Regions from separate parts of the Homo sapiens genome. Here all the other regions are linked to region 1. Evidence: promoter capture Hi-C in 16 types of primary human blood cells and fetal thymus (Javierre and others, 2016). All regions are on one chromosome and are shown on one strand. Each heading gives the region's core, a stretch centred on a gene start or on the middle of the fragment in contact. The rest is flanking DNA. Distances are from core to core; before and after follow the strand shown. Region 1 holds the start of ARHGAP42 (Rho GTPase activating protein 42). Region 2 overlaps ARHGAP42 (Rho GTPase activating protein 42). Region 3 overlaps ARHGAP42 (Rho GTPase activating protein 42). Region 4 overlaps ARHGAP42 (Rho GTPase activating protein 42).

Region 1 (3,505 bases), core at 581-3,080:
AAGTGGTTAAGTAAATGTTTTAACATTTGGGATGATTAAAAGATATTTTGGAGCACATTAATTTCAAGACATCTTGCTAAGCTCTCTCCTTACTGTTAATACATGTTTCAAAATATAGATCCGATACTAGTATTGTCTCAGTTTTAGGCGCACACATCCCTATCATGTTGTTATACAAAGATGATGCCCCCATATATGTCCTGGGGGTAACTAGATCACCCAAAGGTCTCTCTACCTTTTGAAAGTACCTCACTCACCCAGCTTTAAGTGACCAGAGATTCCACGGCTTCATTTCAGTAGCTAAAACATCCAGAAGCCTCTATTAAGATGCAAATACTTTTCACAGGCTCCTTTGAAGATGGAAAATAAATAAATACATAAATAAATAAAAATAAATTTTTTAAAAGATGCAAATACCTCCTGGGAAAGGTAACAAGCCATATCATGTAATTGTGCTCAATTCTCTGTAAGAGAAACTCTTCAGTTTCAGATACTCTTAGGTCTTAGGAATTGAAAGCTAAGATCCAGAGGATAAAAGGAGGAAGGAAAATTTGATCAAGAGGTGTATGGGAAAGGAGGTGGAAGAAGCCCTATATTATAGACTATAACAGTCTTTATATTCTACAGATCATCAAAAGTTCTGATTGGCCTTTAACCCCTTAACTTTCATCCCAATGACACACCCAACACCCACACAATGCAAACCAAAACTAAGACGCACAGAAAACTTGCAGAGTTAAAATGCACTGGTGCCTTGCTGTCTTCCATTATCTTACAAAATGGCAAAACTGCAAATGTATGCTTTTTAAAAAGCCAACTCAATGACTGTGTCCAATGAAGAGCCACTGACGTATGAGAGACATTAATAATTTTCTTTCAATATCACTAAACTAGCCTAATTTTATCTTTAAGACAAACTCTTGATTCCCCCCTTAAGGGCTTTTTTAGTTCAAACTATTAATAGACACAATAAATTAAAAAAAAAAAATTAAAGTCCCCAACATCTTCCTAGGAGCATTACACAACGAGATGACTTTGAACGACTTTCCTCAGGATATATTCCAGTGCCCTGTAGAGAACTTTCCCCATCCCTGTAGACATGTGAGTAAGTAAAGAACACCTCAAGAACAAACTTTGTTGGCCACCAGCAGGGGAGCTCTTCAGCTTTTGTCCCCAAATCCATTCAAACAAAAGAAGCTCCGACTCCTCCAACCCACCCTTCGGACCCGCACCCCGCGGGGACTCTCCAGATGCGGGTGTCCACTCCCCCGCCAGCCCTACTTACTCCTCAACGCCCCAATGAGCAGAGAGCCGTCCTTAATGAGCTCCTTGATGAACTTGTTGGTTCGCTCCAGCTCAATCTCGTGACACTGCAAGCGCTCCCTGAAATCTGGGCTGTCCAAGTAGGAATCGCTGAACTCCAGAGTGGGCAGCCCCATGGCACAGGCGCTGCCAGCGGCGGCCGCGGACACGTCCGGGCCGGAGGTCAGGGCGGGGGCAGCCGGCGGCCGCGGCGGGCGCTGGGGTCGCGCGATCGCGGGGAAGGCGCCGGGACGCGAGGGGACTGATTGCGCGGAGGAAACGGGCCCCGAGCGCCGCGCCGCCTGCGCCGGGCTCAGTCTTCCTCCCCCGAGGCTAGGCGAGCGCAGGCGCGGGCGGCGGGCCGAGGCGCGAGTCCCCTCAGGTTGTTGTCATCTGGACGCATCGTCGTTCGGAACGCGGGGGCGGCGAGGCTCCGGGCCGCGGCCGGAGCAGGAAAGTTTCTCTCACGGCGCGCAGACACTTCCGGCAGTTCCACTCCCCAACTCTCTTGACAGTCGTCGGCGTTGTGAGCCAGAAGCAGCGCACAGCCGCAACTCCGGCCGGGCTGGGGAAACCCTCCCCCTCGGCGGACGCAGGCTCAGAGCGCTTGCAAATCGCACCCGGGCTCCCAGACCCTCCTCCCCGCCGCCGCGCTCCCACCCAGCGCCACCCCGCCCCTTCGCCCCTTTGCCCTCCTGCCCCACCCGTCCGCCCGCACTGGGCTCCAGGGCTCCCCGCGCTGCAGCCCCGCGCTTGCGCTCCGGCCTTGGCTGGGGTGTTAGCCCTGTCCCCTCTTGGGCCCCTGGTTTCGGCTAGCCCTTGGTGACACTTCGGGGTCCCTCGCTCCACAAAAGGATCTGACTCCCAATATACCTCCCCTAACAGTGTCCCCTCCACCCACTCCCTACAATTCTCTGGGAGAAAAACCAACGTTAAGTTTCCCTAAAGTCTGAGTATTTTGAAGCGTAGATGGAAGATACTACTGTCTAGCGTTCGTTTAGATTTTACTTCACACTTCCCCACCGAATGCATTTGAATTCCACGTTGAAAAATTGTCCCGTCGCTCTCCCACCCCTCAGCTTCAATGATCCAGCCTGGAGGTGTTTCTTCCCCCTGCCCCCACTCCATAGCTGGGAAGGTGGGACGATTTTTCAAGTCATCCTCACTCTGCTTACGTGCTCCTACTTCTAGTAGAATACCTATTTGCATCACAATAGTAGTATCTCCTATTGGCACCTGGATGGAATTGTCCTAGGAGCGGGAAAATTTTCAAATTGTTGAAGTGGACTGGAGTTTGAAATAAATAGTTAACTCCTACCCACAGGCTTTATCCTTCCTCCGGTGGAGGTTCACCTAATAAATTTCTGTTCTCTTAAAACCTTGACAGCAAAAGAAACGACTGCTTTACATCTCGTCCTGACATCATCTATAGGATTTCTGAGAACTCGGATATTGTTCTTAAGGATCTGCTTTTAATTTCTGCATTTTCATTGCTTTGTCCATATGAACCATCTGTTTAAAAACTATTCTACAGATCATGGGAAAAATTCCACTAAAGTGCTTTACATTTTTCCCAATTAAGTTTCAGAGCCAGTCAAGATTCTTGGTTTCAATTTTTTAAATGTACAGGAACATTAAAAATAACATGTAAACCTAAAACAGATAAGATAATGTAAACAGTATGGGCCAGGCGCAGTGACTTAACGCCTGTAATACCAGCATTCTGGGAGGCTGATGCAGGAGAATCACTTGAGGTCAGGAGTTGGAGACCATACTGGCCAACACGGTGAAACCCAGTTTCTACTAAAAAATACAAAAATTAGCTGGGCCTGGTGGCGCACGCCTGTAGTCCCAGCTACTTGGGAGGCTGAGGCAGGAGAGTCACTGGAATCCGGGAGGCGGCGATTGCCATGAGCCGAGATTACGAGATTACTCCACCGCACTCCAGCCTGAGTGACAGAACGACTCCATCTCAAAACACCTTCCATCCATATTCACATCTTTGGCCCCATATTGGCAAAATGACCAGTCACTATTAGAGCCATTTTAACTCCAAGTGTTAAATTTGTTTTTGTTAACTAAATACTCTTCAATTTTTTTTTTCTTTTGCAGGTTTGGGGAAGGGAGAGGCAGTAATTCTGTTTGTCAGTTAATGAAATGACATGACATAAACACCAGTGGACTGTGTCTCACCAGAGGTGAT
Region 2 (3,505 bases), core at 311-2,810, 240 kb before region 1:
AGGACAGCCTGAAAAGCTTTAAGAATTGCACTTCCCACATATCATTTTCTTTGGTGAATCTGCCTGAATGGCTGGGATGTGAGGGAAAAACTATGGTTTCAGTTTACCCTAAAGTAAATTTGACCTTTAAAATAATAACAGTAACCGTAATAACAACTACAAACTTCTAGATAGACGGAATAGGTTTGAATACTAAGAAAGTTCCTTTTATCACTGACGAAATCTCATATAGCACTTTATTATTCCCAAGGGTATAGAACCAAATTACTTGTCGCTCCAATAACCCAACCAGTTGGAAAAACTGATACCATACTTAACAGATAAATAATCTTTTAAAATAACCCCATTACAAGACAGAAAAGGAACAAATATTCAAAATTAAAAACTCGTGCTTCATGTACACTGTCATGAAAATTGAAAGAAAACTCACAGAATGGGAGAATATATTTACAAAAATCATTTATCCCATAAGGGGCTTGTATGCAGAATATATAAACAACTCATAATTAAATAATAAAAAGACAAATAACCTAGTTTAAAAATAGGCAAAGAAATTGAATAGGCATTTCTTGAAAGAAAATATATGAATGGTCAAAAAGCATTTGAAAGATTCTTATTAGTCATCAGAGAAATCGAAATCAAAACCACAGTGAAATCTAAGTTCAGCTCTCTAGGATAGCTAGACTCAAAAAGTGAGATAATAGCAAGTGTGTGTGAGGGACATGGAGAAACTGTATCCCTCATATATCACTGGTGGGAGTGTCAAGGGGTGCAGATATTTTGGTAGTTCGTCAGATGGTGAAACATACAGTTACCACATGACTCAGTAATTCCTCAAGAGAGAGAAAAACATGTATCTACACAAAAATTTGTACATGAACGTTTATAATAGGGGTCCCCAATCCCTGGGCTGCAGGCCAGTAAAGGTCATTTGTGGCCGGTTAGGAACCCAACTGCATGGCAGGAGGTGAGACCTGGGTGAGCTCTGCCTCCTATCAGATCAGTGCTGGCATTAGATTCTCATAGGAGAGTGAGGCCTATTGTGAACTGTGCCTGCGAGGGATCTAGGTTGCCTGCTCCTTATGAGAATCTAACTAATGCCTGATGATCTGAAGTGGAACAGGTTCATCCTGAAACCCTTCCCTCCTCACCAATTTTTTCATGGAAAAATAGTCTTCCATAAAACTGGTCTCTGGTGCCAAAAAGGTTGGGGACCGCTGGTTTATAACATTATTCATAATAGTGAAAAGGTACCTATCAACTAATATTTGGATAAGCAAAATGTGGTCTATCCATACAATAAAATGTTATTTGGCCCTAAAGGGAAATGAAGTATTGATGCATGCTTTCAGATGGATGAACCTCGAAAACCGCATCTGAGTAAAAGAAGTCAATCACCAAAGGGGCCACGTATTACACAATTTCATTTGTATGAAAGGCCCAGAGTAGGCAAATTAATAGAGACAGAAAATAATTAGTGGTGTTTCAGTATTAATGGTTGTGGGGTATACTGGGAATGATACCTAAAGGATGTGATGTTTATTTTTAAGGTGATGAAAATGCTTTAAATTTTTTTGTGGTGATCGTTGCACAGATCTGTGAATATACTAAAGTTCCATTGAATTGTATAGTTTAAATGAGTTGTCTGTATGGTATGTGAATTGTATCTTTATGACTTTTTTTTTTCTTTTTTGAGACAAGGTCTCACCCTTTCACCCAGGCTGGAGGATAGTGGCATGATTAGAGTTCACTGCAGTTTTGACTTCCCAGGCTCAAGTGATCCTCCCACCTCAGCCCCCAAGTAGCTAAGACTACAGGCGCATGACACCATGCCCAACTAATTTTTGTAGAGGTGGGGTTTTGCCATGTTGCAAAGACTGGTTTTGAACTCCTGGGCTCAAACAATCCTCCCGCCTCGGCCTCTCAACTTGCTGGGATTACAGGTGTGAGCAACCATGCCTGGCCTGAAGTTGTTTTTAAAAAATAAAAATAAATACTTCCCAAACACAAAGCACCATAAGGCACTATAAGAAATCAAAATGTTATATAGTTCCATCCTTCATATTTGGCCATCTAAACTTCTAAGAAGATTAGAAAAGTAGGGCAAAGTCAAGGCATCAATTTTCACACTGTAAAAGTGTCAGGCCTGTGAGTTAAATCTGTAGTCTTTGCAATTCCCTGCCTGGAGGAAACTTAGAGATAAACATCTTAAAGGATACCTTCAAAATGACTACAGATTGCTTTAAGTCTAATGCATAGATGTGCAAAGGAGTTCATGGCATGAAAACGAAAGCATATATAAATCGAATCAAATAAATAATGAGAAACTTGAAGATAAAAAGAGAGCCAAGAATGGAAAGTGGCCAGTCAATGCTGGCCTGGAAAAGACTACTTTTAAAATGGGAGGACAGAAGCACAAATGAATGAATGGACAATTACGTGCACTGATTAATAAAACAAAGCCGTGGCCATGCATCGCCTCAGCACTGAAAAGCGTCATTGGAATTCCTGAAAAGATGGATTTGTAAGCATTCAAGAGGATGGAATTCAGATGAAGAGGCCTGAGGTACACTTTCCTGGTAAAGGAACAGAGGCATTGACAATAGCCAGCTTATCTTTACAGCTCAATTGTAATAGAGAAAGTACTGTCACCAGCAAGCTGATAAAGCCCAGCAGAAGCTACATGATTGATTTCTACCAAACACATAGGATGCAGTTTTCTTACTTTTACAAAATTCTGTTCACTAAGTTCTATCACAAATTTCTAATTTTCAATAACAATACCCTGAACTTTAGATTTATCCAAGGACCATTACAGATTTTATTTTTACTTAAAAGTTTTGTTGTTAAATTTTTAAAGAATGAATGCCCTTAGATTTTAAACAGGATAGAAATTTAACCTTTAGTCCTACAGAGTTTCGAAAAACAATGATGCTAACCTTATTTTTTTCACTTTTACTAAATTAAAGCTAACTGATTACGTTGAAAAAGAAAAACACATCAAAATGTTAAACTTTCAAAAGCTGCTCATCTATATACTAGCTGATGGACTTTTAAAAAAGACTTAGCCAGTAGCATTTCAATCTCAAAATTATTTAAGCTTTTTAAATTTAGAGACTCTGAAAAGTATTTTATAGTATACGTCTTGATAATAACAAGCTATAACATGTTAGCAAATTAGGCAAATTTTCTTCAGCGAAAAAATTTAAATTGAATTTAGCAGTCCAAGGGAAGAGCATCAAAAGCACTATATTTTAGCTTATATATGATGATTTATTTTCATTTTCTGCATTAACTTTAAACATTAATACAGAAAGACTATAATGGACTCTAAAAGGAATACTGTAACATGAAAATGCTATTACAAAACTTACTCTAGGTGTATATTTAGAAGGCTAAAATTAAAATGTGTTTTTAAAAAAGCCACACAGGGCTTTAAAGCCACAACTAACAAAGGGATTCATAAATGTTGTTTTCATATCTAGCAATCATAGTACAGGTGAGG
Region 3 (3,505 bases), core at 269-2,768, 220 kb before region 1:
GATAACGCATGTCAAGGATATGAAGGGATAATACACAAAAGAGGAAACCCGAAGTGTAACATGCATATGAAGAGTTGTTCAAACTCATTCATTATTGGAGACAAACAAATTAAATCCATGAGATATTACATTATATCAGTTGGATGCTCTAAGAGTTAGAAAGTTGAATGATGCCATGTGCTAAGAGCATGTGGAGACACAGGAACCCTTAGGTACTACTGATGGGATTGTAGAGGGGTGAAGTCTTTTTAGAGGGAAACATTGCACTACTAAGGGACATATATGTGTGTCCTAAGAACCAACTTCTGGGTGTATCTCTCAATGAGATGCTAACAGAAATGTCCACAGCAAACATGAATGAGCATATTCATTAAGTTGTTACCTGTGGAAACAGAAAAGGAGATGGGGTATTTGTTAGAGGGTACATAAAATGTATTAGATGTGTACTATGGAGTGCTACACGGAATTTAGAGAGAAATAATAAGTGTTGATGGATCTCAAAACACAGTTCTGGGTAGAAAAATTTAAAACAAATAGATACATAAAACAACATAATTTACAGAAATTAAATGTAAATAAGGAAGAGGGCTATTAAAAACAGAAAACAGAGTTTTAAAACATAAAGAAGGATATCAGAAGCCCATCTGACTAATAGAACTGCTGAATGAGAGATAATAAAATCAAGAGAATTGCCAAAAAAAAAATTTCAGGAATATTTCCAGAATGAATTTTTTTTTAAAGTTTCCACATTAAAATGGCCCAATATGTACACTGTACAATGAATGAGAAAATAAACAAAAGGCATGTCATCATAAAATGTTTAAAAAACATGGATAAAATGAAAACCTAAAAGCAACCCATAAGAAAATGGAGCTTACATAAAAATCATCAGAAATCAGAACAATAATGGATCTTCAACAGCGTAAAAGAAGCAATAAACCAAAATCCATAGCCTTCAAATTTCTGAGGACTAATTCATTCAAACCTAGCTTTCTATTTCTAGTTAAATTATCAATCCAGGTTGAGGGTAAAATAAAAATATTTACAAATGTGTAAGGCCTCAAAAATTCTACTGCTTCTGTACCATTTCTCAGGAGAATACTGAGGGGTGTGCTCTGCTCACATAAGGGAATAAATCAAGGAAGTTAGGCAAAAGATCTGAAAAAACAGGAATTTTTTCAGTTTTAAGAGTCACAGGGAACTCCCAAAATCATGGTAATATGATCTTCCAGAAAATTAGATGGACAAGTAAGCCTTTGAACTTTAAAGCAACCAGCTAAGATGAGAGTTACAGGAGAAATGTCTCTAAACAAATGGAATGGAGAAGGTATTATCTGGTATGTTTAAACATATTAAGACTATCGCCCTGGCCAGAGTGCCATGGCAACATCTTGGCTCACTGCAGCTTCCGCCTCCGAAGTCAAACGATTCCCGTGCCTCGGCCTCCCGAGTAGCTGGAAACACAGTCATGCGCCACCATTCCTGGCTAATTTTGGTTATCTTTAGTAGAGACGGGGTTTTGCTACGTTGGCCAGGCTGGTCTCAAATTCCTGGCCTCAAGTGAACCACCCGCCTCGACCTCCCAAAGTGGTAGGATTACAGGTGTGAGCCACTGTGTCCGGTCCAAGATTTGTTTTGTAATTATATCCTTGTACTTGGAAACAGAATATTAAGCAAAATTTGAAAGTAAGGCAATTACTGATGCCAAGAAACAAAAAATTAGGCAAAAAAAGTAATCATAGAATCTGATATGGTTCACCTATGAACCATAATTATATTGTTATGTGGACAATGAGCGTTGATCTTTTAAAAAATGTAATCAAATGATATATATTTGGAAGGTAGCAGGAAGGGAAATATGTTTGAAGTAGTAGTGGTTGTGCTACTGTAAGGATGCTAAATATTCATTTTCCATAGGTGGAAGTTAATTATTAAAGACATACATAGTTTTCAATAATCTAATCATATGTGAAGGCATATAAATTAAGCCAGCTCCTTGCTCCATCTCTGTTCCAAAGTTCTGATCCCTGAAGGCAAATACTTGTAAATTTTTAAGCTATTGATTCCCATTTGTCTCCACTTTTCTAAATAATATATTCACTTTCCTTTTTCAATCTTAGGCATTGTTAAATTCTTCAATAATTGATTTCTGTTTTAAAAGTGAGAAGGAGAAAAATGGAGATGGGATAGCAAGAGAGGAGGAGAAACACAAAAGTTGAAAAATTGGTAAGAATGAACAAAAATTAGAATGGAGAGAAGAGAAAGTTTCCTAAGGGTATGCTGACACCTGGCTCACAAGTAGATTTTTATTAATTCATTCATTAACTTGAGCTTTTAGTAAATACCCATTTTGTGACTGGTACTGATGCTCAGTGCTGACCAAGACTGGGAGAACAATTAACAGTGGTTGTAAAGTAGTTTGCATACCAGAACTCCACATAAAATTCTACAAGGTAAGAATAATAAATCCTCATTTTATGAGCATGAAAACATTATCAGAGAAGAGAGAAGTAATCTGACCAAGGTCACAGAGCTTATGACAGGCACAGCAGATAATTAAAATTAAATCTATCTGGTTCCCAGTTCCATGTTCCTTGCAAAGTAAAATGCAACCTAAGGAAGCAAAAGATTAAAACCATAGCACTTCACTTCCTCCAAAAAAAAGGTGGGGAGGTCAGGTGGGAGTTGAAGGAGAAAAAGGACAAAAGAAAGGAGAGGGAAGAAAGAAAGAAAAGTGAACAAAGAAAGAGATTAAGGAAAGAGGGGATGAGAGTCCGGGCATGGTGGCTCATGCCTATAATCCCAGCACTTTGGGAGGCCGAGGCGGGTGGATCATCTGAGGTCAGGAGTTCGAGACCAGCCTGGTCAACATGGCAAAACCCCGTCTCTACTAAAAATACAAAAATTAGCTGGGCGTGGTAGCATGCGCCTGTAATCCCAGCTACTTGGGATGCTGAGACAGGAGAATCGCTTGAATCTGAGAGGCAGAGGAGGTTGCAGTGAGCAGAGATCACACCACTGTACTTCAGCCTGGGCGACAGAGCAAGACTCCATCTCAAAAAAAAAAAAAAGAGAGAGGAAAAATAGGAAGTAGAGGGGGTGTTCGATATTTGTAATGCCACTTTAAACCTTGTGAGAGAAAGCAAATGATGTTGAAAGCATATGACAGCATCTGAGATGGTTAATACTGAGAGTCAACTTGATTAGATTGAAGGATACAAAGTATTAATCCTGGGTCTGTCTGTGTGGGTATTGCCAAAAGAGATGAACATTTGAGTCAGTGGGCTGGGGAAGGCAGATCCACCCTTAAACTGGTGGGCACAGTCTAATCAGCTCCCAGTGAATATAAAGCAGGCAGAAAAATGTGAAAAGGAGAGACAGGCCTAGTCTCCCAGCCTACATCTTTCTCCCATGCTGGATGCTTCCTGCCCTCGAACATCGGATTCCAAGTTCTTCAGTTTCGGGACTCAGGCTGGCTCTCCTTGCTCCTCAGCTTACAGACAGC
Region 4 (3,505 bases), core at 538-3,037, 190 kb before region 1:
TGCATTGGCCAGATTGGTCTCGAACTCCTGACCTCGTGATCTGCCTGCCTCAGCCTCCCAAAGTGCTGGGATTACAGGCGTGAGCCACCGCGCCCACCCTGGTAACACCTCTTAACTGTCACAACAGTTAAGGAGCTGTCCTGAAGTCATCAAGTTCACACACAGCAGAGCCAGGATTCAAACCAAGTTCTCCTTGACTTAAACCCTGTGTTTTTTCCTCTGAAACAACTGAATCTCTGGAAAGCCAGACTCAAGATACAGACAAATCTGAGGTAGGAATTTTACAGAAGACATGAGAAACCATAGTCTTTCATTTACAAGCATGAAATGCTACTGGTCATTAAAGAAAATGCAATTAACAGAATCTATCCTGAAAGTGTAATATACAGAGTAAACTTACATGAGCAAAGAAGTATAGTAAAGCACACATGGCCACATAAATTTGCTTCCCGTAGGAGTCTTGTATTTCAAGGCATAAATTAAACTCCAAATTCCCCAGAGGCTAAGTAAGGTAAGCAACATAAGAGACAAGAAAAGATATACTGGGAATATTTTAAGTGTCACTGCATCTGAGCTTTAGTTTTCAAAATGGAACTCTATTGTTTCTGATTTGATTTACTTCCTAGAACATCAAGAAAAACTGAACAAATACTATTTAATACTCCAATTCTAACAGATTTTTAAAAATACAAGAATTTGGCTTTAAGAGACAATACATCTCACAATGAGCTCACCAGTATTACCAGCTGGGACCAGTTAACCACATTTACCAAATAAGGCAAGTTTTTTCAATGCCTGAAATCTTTCTACAGTGAGCTCACTTCACTTCTCACTGGGTTTCTACAGTAATTGTAGAGGTCATCTCTCCAACTCAGAGTCTGTAAATCACCAGGCTCTTGATGCAAACGTGGGTTGCATGGTCTCTGGAGAGCATTAAATTTGGCTTCAGATTATTACTGGCTGTATATAGAAGAGAAAGACGTAAAATCAACTCTAAATACAGAACAGTAAGAAGCTGTATTAAGTGAAACCTATTAATAAAGTCAGTGAGCTGTTTACTATGATGAATATAAATGGTAGAGCTTACCAGATTTCTCTCAATATATGTGTTCAGTTGCAAATATATTGCTTGCTCTAGGGCTGAGTCTACACAAACATACCCACAGATTTCAATAATGTTGGCTAACAAATGAGTTCACTTATCTGCACAATCCCAAGGAAACAAAATAATTTTTTCTTTTTAATTGGCTGATTTTGTATAAAGTAAAAGCAGTGCATACAGACAAATCCGTGATGAGATTCACCACATTCTTACTTAAAATAACAAATGTTGTTGGGAGGATGGTTGTCCACCATATTTAGCAGTTCTGAAAACTAAATAAAAGCATCTGATTGTAAAGTGTTTTTACCTGACCTTCTCTTAAATATTTAAATACGTCCAACTACAGAAGCAAAAAGGATTCTTTATTTTTCTCTTCTATATTGCTTGTGTGCTAAGCTATAGCCCTAAACTAAGAACGTATATATTTTCTTCAAAGGTAAAAGGTTTCCATGAAAATAAAAATACTTGAAATAAAAATTTGTGGTGTCTGTGTTAAGAATATTATTTTCAGCCACAAATTTGTTCAAGGTCAAATTCAAGTTCATCTTGCTGTAAATTCTGTGGTTTTCCAACATAGGAAGCCAAATTATCAAACACATGTTATTAAGTTTGTGCTACCAGAGAAGGTATTTTGCAAAGGTAAGGACTGAAATTTGTTTCAGGTCTTAGTCCAGTGAGTGGTGAGCAAATTTTTTTTATAAGGAATCAAAGAGTTAAGCATTTTATATTTTGTGGGCCACATGCTCTCCTACACAACCACCCAACTGTGCTCTTGTAACAAGATAACAACCACAGAGAACACATAAACAGGTAAGAGACACTATATTCCAATAAAACTTTATTTATGGACACTGAAATCTGAATTCTACAGTTTCCGCTTGTCAAAAAATGTTACTCTTTATTTACCCTCTTTATGCTACTCTTTAATTACCCTCAGCTGGCCCTGTCCAGTCACCCCCCGCCACCCTGGACGTGGCCATGTCCCTCTGCCACACCCCAGGCCCTGTGACGGGCCACTGAGAAGAGCCCACTGTGGGATGGGGTTGACCTCTGTTGCCTGCCTGGGTATCTGGGCCTGGCCACCAACCGTGTTCTTCATGTGTTGATTTTATTTGACCCCTGGAATGGTGGGTCTCATCCTTCCCGTCTCGGCCGAGAGTGGCTGAGGGCTGCCTCACTGCAAACCCTCCCCCCAGTGTCAGTGATGGTCATCCTTGTCTCAGAATGACCAGGGTCCAGCCAATGTCTGACCAAGGTCAAGGGGCAGGTGCAGGAGTGGCAGGGATGGCTCCGAAGCCAGAAATGCCTTAAATTGCAACGTCCTTTCCCCATCCCCACCCCTAGCCCCAGCCCTAGCCCAATCCTCCTAGGAACAGGACCTGATAAAGCGGATGGTGGGAGGCTGGGCACCGGGTTACTAACTCCAGTACGTTCCTGTGTTGATCACTGTGAAATAAAGTCTGAAAACTTTAAAAGCAAAAAATAAATAAAAAATAAAATAAATAAAAAATCAAAGTGTAACAAAAAATAAAAAATAAAAATGTAACAACCATTCATAGTTCATGAGCCACACACACACACACACACACACACACACACACACACACACACACAGAGAGAGAGAGAGAGAGAGAGAGAGAGAGAGAGACAGTGGATTAGATTTAGTCAGCAGTTTGCCAACCCTTGCCTTAAAACATAGAAATTAACATTTGCAAATCAGGATGGAAACAAAAATCACCCTTAACTGCAGGGTAGAAAACTCATCCTGAGGTAAAAGAGAACAGAGTCATCTGAGTCCTGAGATACGTGCTTTGAGCTGGTAAGTAAGAACTGTTAAAGACAGCACAGAAGACACTGGATTCACTTTCTCCTGTGCCACACTTCTTTTGGGGACTGGATAATAACAGTGGAATTCACAGATGGGGCAATAAGCCTATCCTACCCAAAGGGAAGGAAAGGAATACATTTTAAAAAGGAAAGATACGGTAGACTGGAGAACTAATCTGGCACAAAAATAAACACATTACAATTCCAGAAGCTGCAGAATCAAGGCAGAGAATGAAAAAGGCAAAAGGTGGTGCCCCAAGGAAACAGGAGGACCAACAAAGAGGCTCATCTGTGAACTCCATGGAAAATACGGGGGCTCCAGAAGTCTGCCCTTCACTTGATGGTATTCAGTGGGAGCTTACAGTCAAAGACCTTTGCGATCTGACACAGGCCCGAGGTGTCCACACCTGCTCTCCTGCTGGTATTGTGTTGTAGTTTCCAAGCCTTGAATGTCTGGCAGGTAACAGACATTGACAGTAAACAAAATTTATCACTGCTATGGTCTGGATGTAGTTCGTTACCACCAAAACTCATGCTGAGGTTTAATTACCAGTGTAGCAGTCCTGGGAATCAGGG

The links. The method cuts DNA at HindIII sites, captures the fragments that hold promoters and counts their contacts. A CHiCAGO score of 5 or more calls a contact.
Region 2: a fragment that was not itself captured here is called in contact with the fragment with the promoter of ARHGAP42 in region 1 in 6 of 17 cell types (erythroblasts, megakaryocytes, naive B cells and 3 more); the score reaches 12.3 in erythroblasts.
Region 3: a fragment that was not itself captured here is called in contact with the fragment with the promoter of ARHGAP42 in region 1 in 1 of 17 cell types (total B cells); the score reaches 5.4 in total B cells.
Region 4: a contact is called between a fragment that was not itself captured here and the fragment with the promoter of ARHGAP42 in region 1, in 1 of 17 cell types (naive B cells). The highest score is 5.1, in naive B cells.

What each region holds. Positions count from the first base shown.
Region 1 is chr11:100,685,613-100,689,117 of GRCh38, reverse strand. It overlaps ARHGAP42 (Rho GTPase activating protein 42), which reads right to left and starts at 1,830. Exons shown (of 24, transcript NM_152432.4): 1 at 1,286-1,830. The coding sequence starts at 1,439. ARHGAP42-AS1 (ARHGAP42 antisense RNA 1) reads left to right here and starts at 1,163. Exons shown (of 2, transcript NR_133571.1): 1 at 1,163-1,485; 2 at 3,415-3,505. RefSeq lists enhancers at 1,066-1,435, 1,756-1,805, 1,519-2,229 and silencers at 1,456-1,625, 1,926-2,115, 2,166-2,460. The HindIII fragment of the contact is 7,960 bases long and covers 1-3,505 here.
Region 2 is chr11:100,926,774-100,930,278 of GRCh38, reverse strand. The region is part of intron 6 of ARHGAP42 (Rho GTPase activating protein 42); the gene reads right to left. Among named protein-coding and RNA genes, the nearest start is that of SNORD13I, 5.7 kb to the left of the region's middle. The HindIII fragment of the contact is 3,084 bases long and covers 19-3,102 here.
Region 3 is chr11:100,903,814-100,907,318 of GRCh38, reverse strand. The region is part of intron 4 of ARHGAP42 (Rho GTPase activating protein 42); the gene reads right to left. Among named protein-coding and RNA genes, the nearest start is that of SNORD13I, 29 kb to the left of the region's middle. The HindIII fragment of the contact is 4,721 bases long and covers 1-3,505 here.
Region 4 is chr11:100,874,319-100,877,823 of GRCh38, reverse strand. The region is part of intron 4 of ARHGAP42 (Rho GTPase activating protein 42); the gene reads right to left. Among named protein-coding and RNA genes, the nearest start is that of SNORD13I, 58 kb to the left of the region's middle. The HindIII fragment of the contact is 5,652 bases long and covers 1-3,505 here.